Linked DNA regions of Homo sapiens: region 1 is linked to region 2. The links are contacts of gene promoters, found by promoter capture Hi-C in blood cells and fetal thymus (Javierre and others, 2016). All regions are on one chromosome and are shown on one strand. The core of a region is centred on a gene start or on the middle of the fragment in contact, and the rest is flanking DNA. Distances in the headings are between cores, read along the strand shown.

Evidence for each region. The method cuts DNA at HindIII sites, captures the fragments that hold promoters and counts their contacts. A CHiCAGO score of 5 or more calls a contact.
Region 1: a fragment that was not itself captured here is called in contact with the fragment with the promoter of ICOSLG in region 2 in 6 of 17 cell types (total B cells, naive B cells, M0 macrophages and 3 more); the score reaches 12.1 in total B cells.

What each region holds. Positions count from the first base shown.
Region 1 is chr21:44,149,709-44,154,583 of GRCh38, reverse strand. No RefSeq gene overlaps it. Among named protein-coding and RNA genes, the nearest start is that of LINC01678, 7.7 kb to the left of the region's middle. The HindIII fragment of the contact is 1,519 bases long and covers 1,788-3,306 here.
Region 2 is chr21:44,239,237-44,243,886 of GRCh38, reverse strand. It overlaps ICOSLG (inducible T cell costimulator ligand), which reads left to right and starts at 2,944. Exons shown (of 7, transcript NM_015259.6): 1 at 2,944-3,083. The coding sequence starts at 3,070. RefSeq lists enhancers at 646-1,184, 3,689-4,467 and cis regulatory regions at 2,218-3,133, 2,209-3,133, 2,134-3,133. The HindIII fragment of the contact is 2,685 bases long and covers 1,831-4,515 here.

The sequences.
Region 1 (4,875 bases), core at 1,298-3,797, 89 kb after region 2:
CACCACAGCCTCAGGCAGCACTGGCACCCACAGCAGAGGCCACCCTCACAATCTCACACTTCAGGAGCCCAGATGGGATGCTAGCCAGGTTCCCTAGAGGTGGCTTTGCCGGCCCAGGCAGCCCCATCTCTCCGGGACCCCACTGCTCCCCGGGTCCAGCCCGGACCCTGCAGTCGGCAGTGGCTCCATAAAGAAGTAAAATGAGAATATGCACGGGGCCCACACTTAGGGGACTCGTGTCACATGGTGTCCAGCATGGCTCGTGGGTGAGGACAGCAAAACCACCAAGAAATGACCCGAGAGGCCAACAGCAGCTCCCCGGGAAGGCCTGGCAAGAAATCCCCACAACCACCTCACATCCATTATCAACAAAAACAGTGACAAGTGTCGGCGAGGATGTGGGGAAACCGGAAGCCTTGTGTAGCGCTGCTGGGTTGGAAGATGGCGCAGCTGCAGGGAGAGCAGGAAGGCAGTTAGTTCCTCAAGTCAGAACGAGCACATGACGCGGCAATTCCACTTCCAGGCGTGGGCCCAGCAGAACCGAAAGTGAGTCTCAGAGAGACACCTGGCGCCCATGTTCACGCCAGCATTATTCATACCAGCTAAAACATGGAAGCAGCCCGAGCGTCCATCGCCAGAGGAATGAACACACAAAATGTGGCCCACGCACACGATGGAATATTTTTCAGCCATAAGAAGGAAACTCTGACACACGCTGCAACACAGATGGGCCCCGAGAACATGACGCTAAGTGAAATTGAGAGATTTTGTTAGTGGCTTGAAACCATCATTGTATTTGCTCACAATCCCGTGAGTCAGCCGTTTGGTTTGGGCCGGTCTCCTGGCCTGGTCTACCCAGGCTGCCCCCACCCCTGAAGCCACTTGGTGGTTAGTGCCGGCCAATGACCCCATGGTGCACACCTGGTCGACTTCCCAGGTTCCAGTTCCTCCCCTCTAGGACAGCCGCTGGGCCTCAGGGTCGGGGTGACTGAGGCTGACGGAGATGGCAGTCTCTTCCACGGCTGTGCCCAGGGAGGCTGCCAGGCACCCATCTACGCAGCAGCACAGTCTAAAGCCAGCCAGCCCCTCCCTCGGCCCCCACCCACGCCTTTCTCACCACGGCTGGAGGCCCCAGGAAAGCAACACAGACACGGGGGTAGGGAGCACTTCCAGACCCAGCAGGAGCCTGGAAGGCTTCCGCAGCCACACCTCTTCCACAGCCACACCCCTTCCCCAGCCACATCCCATTCCTGCAGGGAAACGCTCGCAGCAGCTGGGGTGAGTCCTGGAACTGTCTCCCCTGCTGGGTGCCTGTCCAGGCACCAAGTCCTGCTTGTGTTTTAGAGCAGGCTAAAAGCGGTATCATGCCCAATCTACACCTAGGCATTTGGTATTGAAACTGCAGAAAGTTAAAGAAACAATCTTGAAAGAAGCCAGCAGCGGGTGGGGAGGAACACCTAAACTACAGACAAAGAATACATTCATTTCTTATAGAATTAGTTTTGACTTTACAGAAACTGTGCAAGTAAAAATACAGTGGACTGAAATATTTAAAGTGTTGAGAAAAAATCCACAAGCCTAGAATTCTGTATCCAGCGAAATTATCCTTCAAAAGTCAAGGAAAAATAGACTTAGACAAAAATTGAGAATTTGTTACTAGTAGACCTGCTTTGCAAAAGGTGTTAAAAGTTCTTTAGAGAGGAAAAAAAATGTACAAGTCAGAAACTTGGATTTACATAAAGAAAGGCACGAGTGATCGAGAAGGAATAAGAAAGGTAATAAAAGCTTTTATTTTTCTTACTCTTTTTTTTTTTGAGACAGGGTCTTGTTCTGGAGTGCAATGGTGTAATCACTGCAATCTTGATCACCTGGGCTCAGGCGATCTTCCCACCTCAGCCTCCCAAGTAGCTGGGACCACAGGTGCACACTACCATGCCCAGCTCGTTTTTTAATTTTTGGAGAGATGGGCTCTCACTATGTTGCTCAAGCTGGTCTTGAACTCCTGGCCTCAAACGATCCTCCCACCTCAGTCTCCCAAAGTGTTGGGATTATAGGTATGAGCCACAATGCCTGGCCATTAATCTTAATGGAACAGACAAAAGTTTGTTAAAGTTATAACAATGTACTTGATTATATATGCTTATGTATAAGTGAAACTAATAATAGCAGTGATACAGGGGACAGGAGTGAAGAATTGGGAACATACTGTTATTAAAAGATACTTTTGGTGGGGCACAGAGGTTCACGCCTATAATCCCAGCATTTTGGGAGGCCAAGGCAGGTGGATTGCTTGAGCCAGGAGTTTGAGGCCAGCCTGGGCAACGTGGCAAAACCCCGTCTCTATAAAAAATACAAAAATTAGCTAGGTGCTGTGGCATGCGCCTGTGGTCCCAGCAACTCAGGAGGCTGAGCCAAGAGTTCCAGGATGCAGTGAGCCGTGATCACACCACTGCACTCCAGCCTGGGCGACTGAGCAAGACCCTGTCTCAAAAAACAACAAAACAAAAAATACTTGGGCTACCGATTAGCAAGCAGTTCAGTGTTATTTGAAAGTGGGCTTGAAATAGTTGGAAATGTGTATCACAAAATCTAGGGTAACCACTGAAAATGTGAAAAAGTATAATTGATGTCTAAGAAAGAATAGAAAATAAAATCATAAAATGGTCAATTAAAACCACAAAAGGCAGAAAAAATAAAAAACAAAAACAAAAAATAGAAAATAGGAACAAACATGGTAGATATTAATCCAACTATATCAACAGTGACTTTGAATGTCAGTGGTATAAATGCACCAATTAAAAGACAGAGATTGTCAAAACGGATCAAAAAATAAGACCTAACTATATGTTATCTACACAAAACCCACTTTAAAAATAAAAACAATGGCTGGGCGCAGTGGCTCACGCCTGTAACCCCAGCACTTTGGATGGCAGAGGCGGGCGGATCACTTGAGGTCAGGAGTTCGTGACCAGCCTGGCCAACACGGCAAAACCCCATCTCTACTAAAAATACAAAAATTAGCCAGGCGTGGTGGCTTGTGCCTGTAGACCAGCTACTCAGGTGGCTGAGGCAGGAGAATCACTTGAACCCGGGAGGCGGAGGTTGCAGTGAGCCATGATCTCATCACTGTAGAGATGGGTGGCAGAGCAAGACTCTGTCTCTAAATAAATAAATAAATAAATAAATAAATAGACACATGTAGATTAAAAGTAAATGAACAGAGGAAGAAATACCATACTCACATTAATCACAAGAAAGCTGGAATAGCTATATTAATTTCAGAGCACACTTCAGAGCAAAGAAGCTTATCAGGAATAAAAGGAGTTATGCATAATAAGGGGTGTGGAATATCTTTCCATTTTACCTCTTTGACTTATTAAAGTTTTATAATTTTCCTCACAGATCTTGTAAATATCTTGTTAGATTTCTACCTAAGTTGTGTGTTTCAGAGTTGCTATGTCTTCCTGGAGAGTGTGGCCTTCCCAGGGAGCTGCTGTTGGCCTCTCGGGTCATTTCTTGGTGGTTTTGCTGTCCTCACCCACGAGCCATGCTGGACACCATGTGACAGGAGTCCACTAAGTGTGGGCCCCGTGAATATTCTCGTTTTACTTCTTTATGGAGCTGCTGCTGAATCAGGGCCTGGGCTGGACCCAGGGAGCAGCGGGGTCCCGGAGAGATGGGGCTGCCTGGGCCGGCAAAGCCACCTCTAGGGACCCTGGCTAGCGTCCCACCTGGGCTCCTGAAGTGTGAGATTGTGAGGGCGGCCTCTGCTGTGGGTGACAGTGCTGCCTGAGGCTGTGGTGGCAATTGGCGTGGTGCACTCTGTAGCATGGGTTGTCCAGGGAGGTGTTTGTGACAGGCTTCCCAGGGTCACGGGTGCTTGGGAGAAGCAGGAACAGGGCAGGGTCATACCAGGTGGACCAGGACAACCAGGGCTGGGTGTCCGGCCTCACGAGGACAGACCTCCCACAGCAGGCAGACCCTGCTCTCCTGGCGCTCAGGGCTATGGGTACTCCAGCCAGGCCCTCCTGGGGATCTGATCTCAGGGCCCTGGGGGCATGGTTTGGACATCTGATAGGGGCAGATTACAACTCTGAAGACTTGGCAGGCTCCGGACTTACTATAAAGCTACAGTACTCACGACAGGGTGTTGGCAAAACAGACCAGTGAAAGCGGAGAGAGAGCCCAGAAACAAATCCGCATGGAGAGTCAACTGGTCTGTGACAAAGCGGCAAAAGCAATGCAATGGGGCACAGCCTCCACCAAATGGAGCCAAACAACGGGGCGTTCACATTCCCAAAATGAATCCCAACACACACATTCCACCCCTACAGCAATTCACTCAGAATGATCACAGACCTAAATGTGAAATGCAAAACTATCAAACTCCTAGAAGATAACACAGGAGAAAATCTAGATGACCGAGGGTTTGGTGATGAGTTTTAAAAACACAAGACTGAGCCCAGTGGCTCCCACCTGGCATCCCAGCACTTTGGAAGGTTGAGGCAGGAGGATCAGTTGAGCCCAGGAGTTTGGGACCAGCCTGGGCAACACAGTGAGACCCTGTTTCTTTCTTTCTTTCTTTTTTTAATAAGGCGGGGGCGGACCACAATCCAAGAAGAAACCAGTGAGAAACTCGATTTCATTAAGATTAAAAACTGCTCTGTGAAGGCACTGTCAAGAGAATAAGAAGAACAAGCCCCAAACCTGGAGAAAATAACTAGAAATGAGATATCCATGAAAGGATTACGAGCCAAAATTTACAAACAACTCTTACAACTCAACAAAAAGAAAAGGGACAACCAATTTAAAAATAGGCAAACATTCTGAGCAGATACCTCACCAAAGAAGATACGCAGATGGTAAATAAGCCAT
Region 2 (4,650 bases), core at 1,695-4,194:
TTCCCCGAAGAGAAAAGATCTTCCTTGGACCAGAAGTTGAGCTCTCAGCATCAGCGGACGCCCATGCTGTCAAACGCAGGTTGCTGTGCCAGACCCCAAAAGGACCCGGGCCTGGAGGTGCATCAAGGTGGAGATCAGAAGACCCCCACGCCCTCGAAACGGCAGAGCAGGGCGGCCTGGGGCTAGGGGCATCAGGCAGCTGCTTCCTGCTTAAGCACTACGACTCGCACCCAGAGCCTCGAACTCCAGGCTGCACAAATACGATTCCTGCTTGGTTCCCAGTTGGCCCTGGACGCTGCCAAGGGGCCCTCTCTCCACACCCCTAGAACAAAAGCCTATCCTGCCGGCCCAAGAAACAGTCACGGTTGAGGGGGAAAACGAAAACCTTCCTTTGACTACAGGAAACTTCCCAAAGGTTTCCCTGTTTCTTCATCTAAACCCATCTAAGTGTTGTGACACATGTGCCGGTGTGCTGTGTGCGTTCACTTACAACAGCCCCATTCATGTATATGTCACACGTCAGGGGATGCAGGCACCAAGGGGCTAAGGAACTTTCTGGGGTCACACAGCTCCGGAGTTGGGATCTGAACCAGCCACCGCTTACCGTGGTCTCCGAGGTTCCTGGGCTGGTCCTGGCACCCTCCCCCGCGGCCGCCTCGGCCTGCCTCAGTGTCCCCTTCTGGCCCAGCTGCCTTCCTGCCCCTGCCTGGCTGTGGCCTCCACGCGGCGTCCCCTCTCTCGGGGGGGCGGGGGGGGGGCTGCCCGCAGCACTTGGCTTGCTGGGGTCTCCGGCGTCTGCCCGGGAAGCAGAGCCTGGACCTGCCCCCTCGGCCACAGCACGGCGGGCCCTGCGGTGTCGGCCCCTCTCCCACCGCCCCCGGGCGGCACTGGGGGGCTGCGGGGTCCGGACGCACCGACAGGGCACCTTCCCTTCGCCGCCGCGGATGACCGGCCGCGCTCTTGGGAGGCCTTAATTTGGGAGGCTCTGCTCCCCCAGGACCCATTCCCCATCCTCCCAAAGCCCCCACGCGGTATCCGGGGGCCGTCCCCCTCTCCGCAGTCCCGCGGGTGGAGGGGATTCAGGTGCGCCCGGCCCTGGGGGTGGAGCGCTCGGCCCGGCGTCAGCTCATCGGCGCGGCGCAGCCCCGGACCTCAGCCGCAGGCCCAGAGGCGCGCGGTTCCCGGCCGGTCAATCAGGGAGGGCCTCCGGGAGGAGGTGGCGCTGCCCGCAGCCCGCCCGGCTCACCTGCGCCCTCCTCACCTGCGCCCTCCTCACCTGCGGGGCCATGCGGTCCCTTACCAGCAGCCGCCCGCCCCGGGGCGAGGAACCTCAGCCCCCAACATCGCCACCCCTCCAGCCTCGCCGGTCCTAGCCGGCGTCCCTGGGCGTGTCCCGGGAAGCGCACGTCCACGCTGGCGCTGGACCGGGTTTTCTGACTCCAGGGACGGGACTCGTCCTAAAGAGTCCGGCTCAGATGCGGTTACGCGCCTCACCTCACCCGGGTGCGGACCGCCAGTGCCTCCGCCCTGCACTCCGCGGGCCCTGCCCAGCTCTTCCCGCCGGAGGGCAGGTGGCCCCCGCCCCGCCCCTGCCAGGCGCGCGATTTTAAATCCCCCCAACCCCCGTCTCTCAGCGTGGCCTGGGAGGGGGAAGCCGCCCGGCTTCAGGGCTTCCTGCGCCTTCGCCGCCGCCCTCCCTGCCCTTCCCCGCCGCCGTCCCCCCTATCCCCCCAGCCCGTCTCTTCCGCCTTCTTATTTTGTGCCTGGGCTCTCTGCTCCGCAAAAATGTTGACTTCCCACGGGCAGAGGTTTCAGAATTTTTTTAAAGCTTTTGTCCACGGCGTTCTCTACATCTTGGTTGAAGGAATGGCAGCCTGCGGGGTGCCGTCTGGGGCCCCCGTCTCCCTGCGCTTCTCGCCTCCTCCATGCGCAGGAGGCGGTGGGGATCCGAGCCTCAGCCCAGAGGCGGGGGCTCCGGGAGGAGGGTGCCCCGCTGCCCTGTCTAGCAGCCTCACCCAGGCCCTTCCGGAGGTGCCTCTGCAGAAAGGGAGTCACGTCCCCCCTGGGCCTCACCTGGCTTGCAGGGATCAGGGAGGGAGGGCGGGGTGGGCTGGGTGCGGTGGGGAAGGAGCAGGGACTCTGGGTCCCACCCTCGGTTGCGTGGTGCAGCCTTTCCCAAACCAGCTGCCCCAGACTCCAGGCCAGACGCCACTGCCAAGGCTGACGAGCCCAGAGCCGCAAGCCTGCCTCGGTTTCTCGGCGGGGGATCCTCAGAGCCAGTGTTAAGCAAAGAGGCTGCGCCAGCGCCCTTCACACCCCTAGAAGGCTAGGGGAGCAAGGCTAGGTGGGGGCGGGCTGGGGCTGGCCCAGAGGGTAGAGCCCGCCCACTTTCCCTCCCTCCTTCCATTCATGCATGCGTTCATTCAGTCATTCATTCCTCAGCAGTCGCTGAGCTCACTCGCCTTAAGTCCTGGAGATCATCGGAGCGCAGCCGGCCAGGGGCCTGGCGCTCTCCCAGCCTTGGGGCCTGGGTCCCCGGACTCCTGCTCGGGGAGGGCCGCAGGACCGGCGCATTGTGCGCGGCGCGGGGAACGGCCCTTGCCTCCCACGGTGCCCTCCCTCGCTGCGCCGGCACCCGCAGCACCCCTGGCCACCTTCCTGCCGGGTACCCCCCACCCCTGCGCTTCCCAGGGCACCTACGGCGCCCAGGTCCGCGTCCAGGCGGACAGGCCGACCTGCCTCTGTCCCGCCTCCGGCCGACGGGCACACGCCTGGGCAGAGCCGAACTTTCCGGAGCCGCCGCGCAGCGCCCCGCCTCCTGTCCCGGGGCGGTCTCGGTCGCCAGAGGAGCCAGGCCGGGGGCGGGGCGGGGACGGGGCGGGGACACGGCTGCCTCCAGCACACCGCGCGCTGGGCGCTCAGAGCCTCGGGCGCGGCGGGAGCGCAGTTAGAGCCGATCTCCCGCGCCCCGAGGTTGCTCCTCTCCGAGGTCTCCCGCGGCCCAAGTTCTCCGCGCCCCGAGGTCTCCGCGCCCCGAGGTCTCCGCGGCCCGAGGTCTCCGCCCGCACCATGCGGCTGGGCAGGTGAGCCGGGGAAGGAGCGGAGGCGCCGCGGTCAGGGGCGGGGTGGCTCGGCCCGCGCGTCCCCAGCTCGGCTCGGACGCGGGGCCTGCGGGGCTCGCCTGGAGGTGCCGGGCTGGCAGTGCGGGTCCGAGGAGCGGGCGGCGGAGGCGCCGGGGCGGCCGGCGGGGCGTGGACGGCAGTGGGCGGCGGGGCCTGGCACCGGGACCCATGGCAGGACGCACAGCCGTGCGGGGGCGGGCTCGGGGGCGGGGTCCCTGCCAGGGAAGGAGGACCGCGAACGCTGGAAGGAGGGAGGGAAGGCGGGCGCACCCTGCACGCCGGGGCACGGGCGCTGCCCCTTCCACTCCCTGGCACTGCTGATTTCCTAGAAGAAGGGAGAAGGAGGGAGGTGACCGGCCGAGCGCTCTCCAAGGCCAGCTGGTGCCCACGGTCTGCGGACACGCCCTCCCCCACACACGTGGGATTCCCCGCAGCCCGGCAGCCGATCCACACTGGGGAAGGCGGGGCTGCCTGAACCAGGAGTGACAGCTTCCTCCTGGATTTTTGCGAAAATATCCAAAATATACTCTTCGCAACCCACGTTGTAGGGTCCGCAGCCTGTGCTCCCCTGGGTGAACCTGTGAGGCCCCTGACCCCAGGGATGCCTCCCGCACAGCTCAGAGCTGGGCCACACCGGAGTCACACTCCCCAGGTCCCCTCCCCATTAGAAGTGTATGCAGTTATGATCCTGCCCTAGAGAGAAAGAATTTAAAGGTCCCGGAATGTCATAGCCCTCCCAAATGTCTTAGCCCTCCGCCACCCACACCTTCAGGTAGGCGGCCCTGTCCATGCTGGGTCTTGAGGCAAGCTCGGGGTGGGGGTAGGTTAGATGCAGGGGTGCTGAGGGTCCAAGGAAAGGACACAGAGGCCGCTGCTTAGGCAGCACCCAGGGAGGGGACAAGCCAGAAACAGCCTGGAGCAGGCACCCCCCACCCTGGCCCAGGAAGCCCCCAGATGTCCTGAGGAGGCCTCCATAGACAGGAGGGGCCTTGTGGGCTGGTGATGAATATGGGCACTGTGGGAGACAAATGGGGGCACAGAGGAGTTCTCACAGCTGTCGTTTAGATGGTGGCTCTGGGGAAATGCTTGAAGGGGCTAAGGGTGGAGGCAGGGGGCCTGCTGGAGGCCATCACAGCCATCTTGCCAGCCAGAATGGTGGCCCCAACAGGGGGAGTGGGAGAGAGAGGAAGGGCCGCCTGCAGACTTCAAGAGCCCCTGGTGGCCAGGGGCCGCCTTGGTGCATGTGTGCTCACTTGGCACAGACACACCTCCATGCAGACTCAGATGACAGCCATCGTGGGTGGGGCAGGGGTTTCTGTGGCTCCAGGGCTCAGGGACAGCCCACTGGGAGGTTCCCACAAGACCAACCTTTGACTTACAAAGCCCCCAAGCTTTCCCAGGCAGAGGCCACAGAGAAGAGGGATGAGCGTCTCCCAGACCTTGGAGGTGCAGGGACATCAGAGAAGGAGATGTCCCTGCTCCTGGGGCTCTTGCTTCATGGGGAGCTGGCCCCAGAAACTGATGGTTT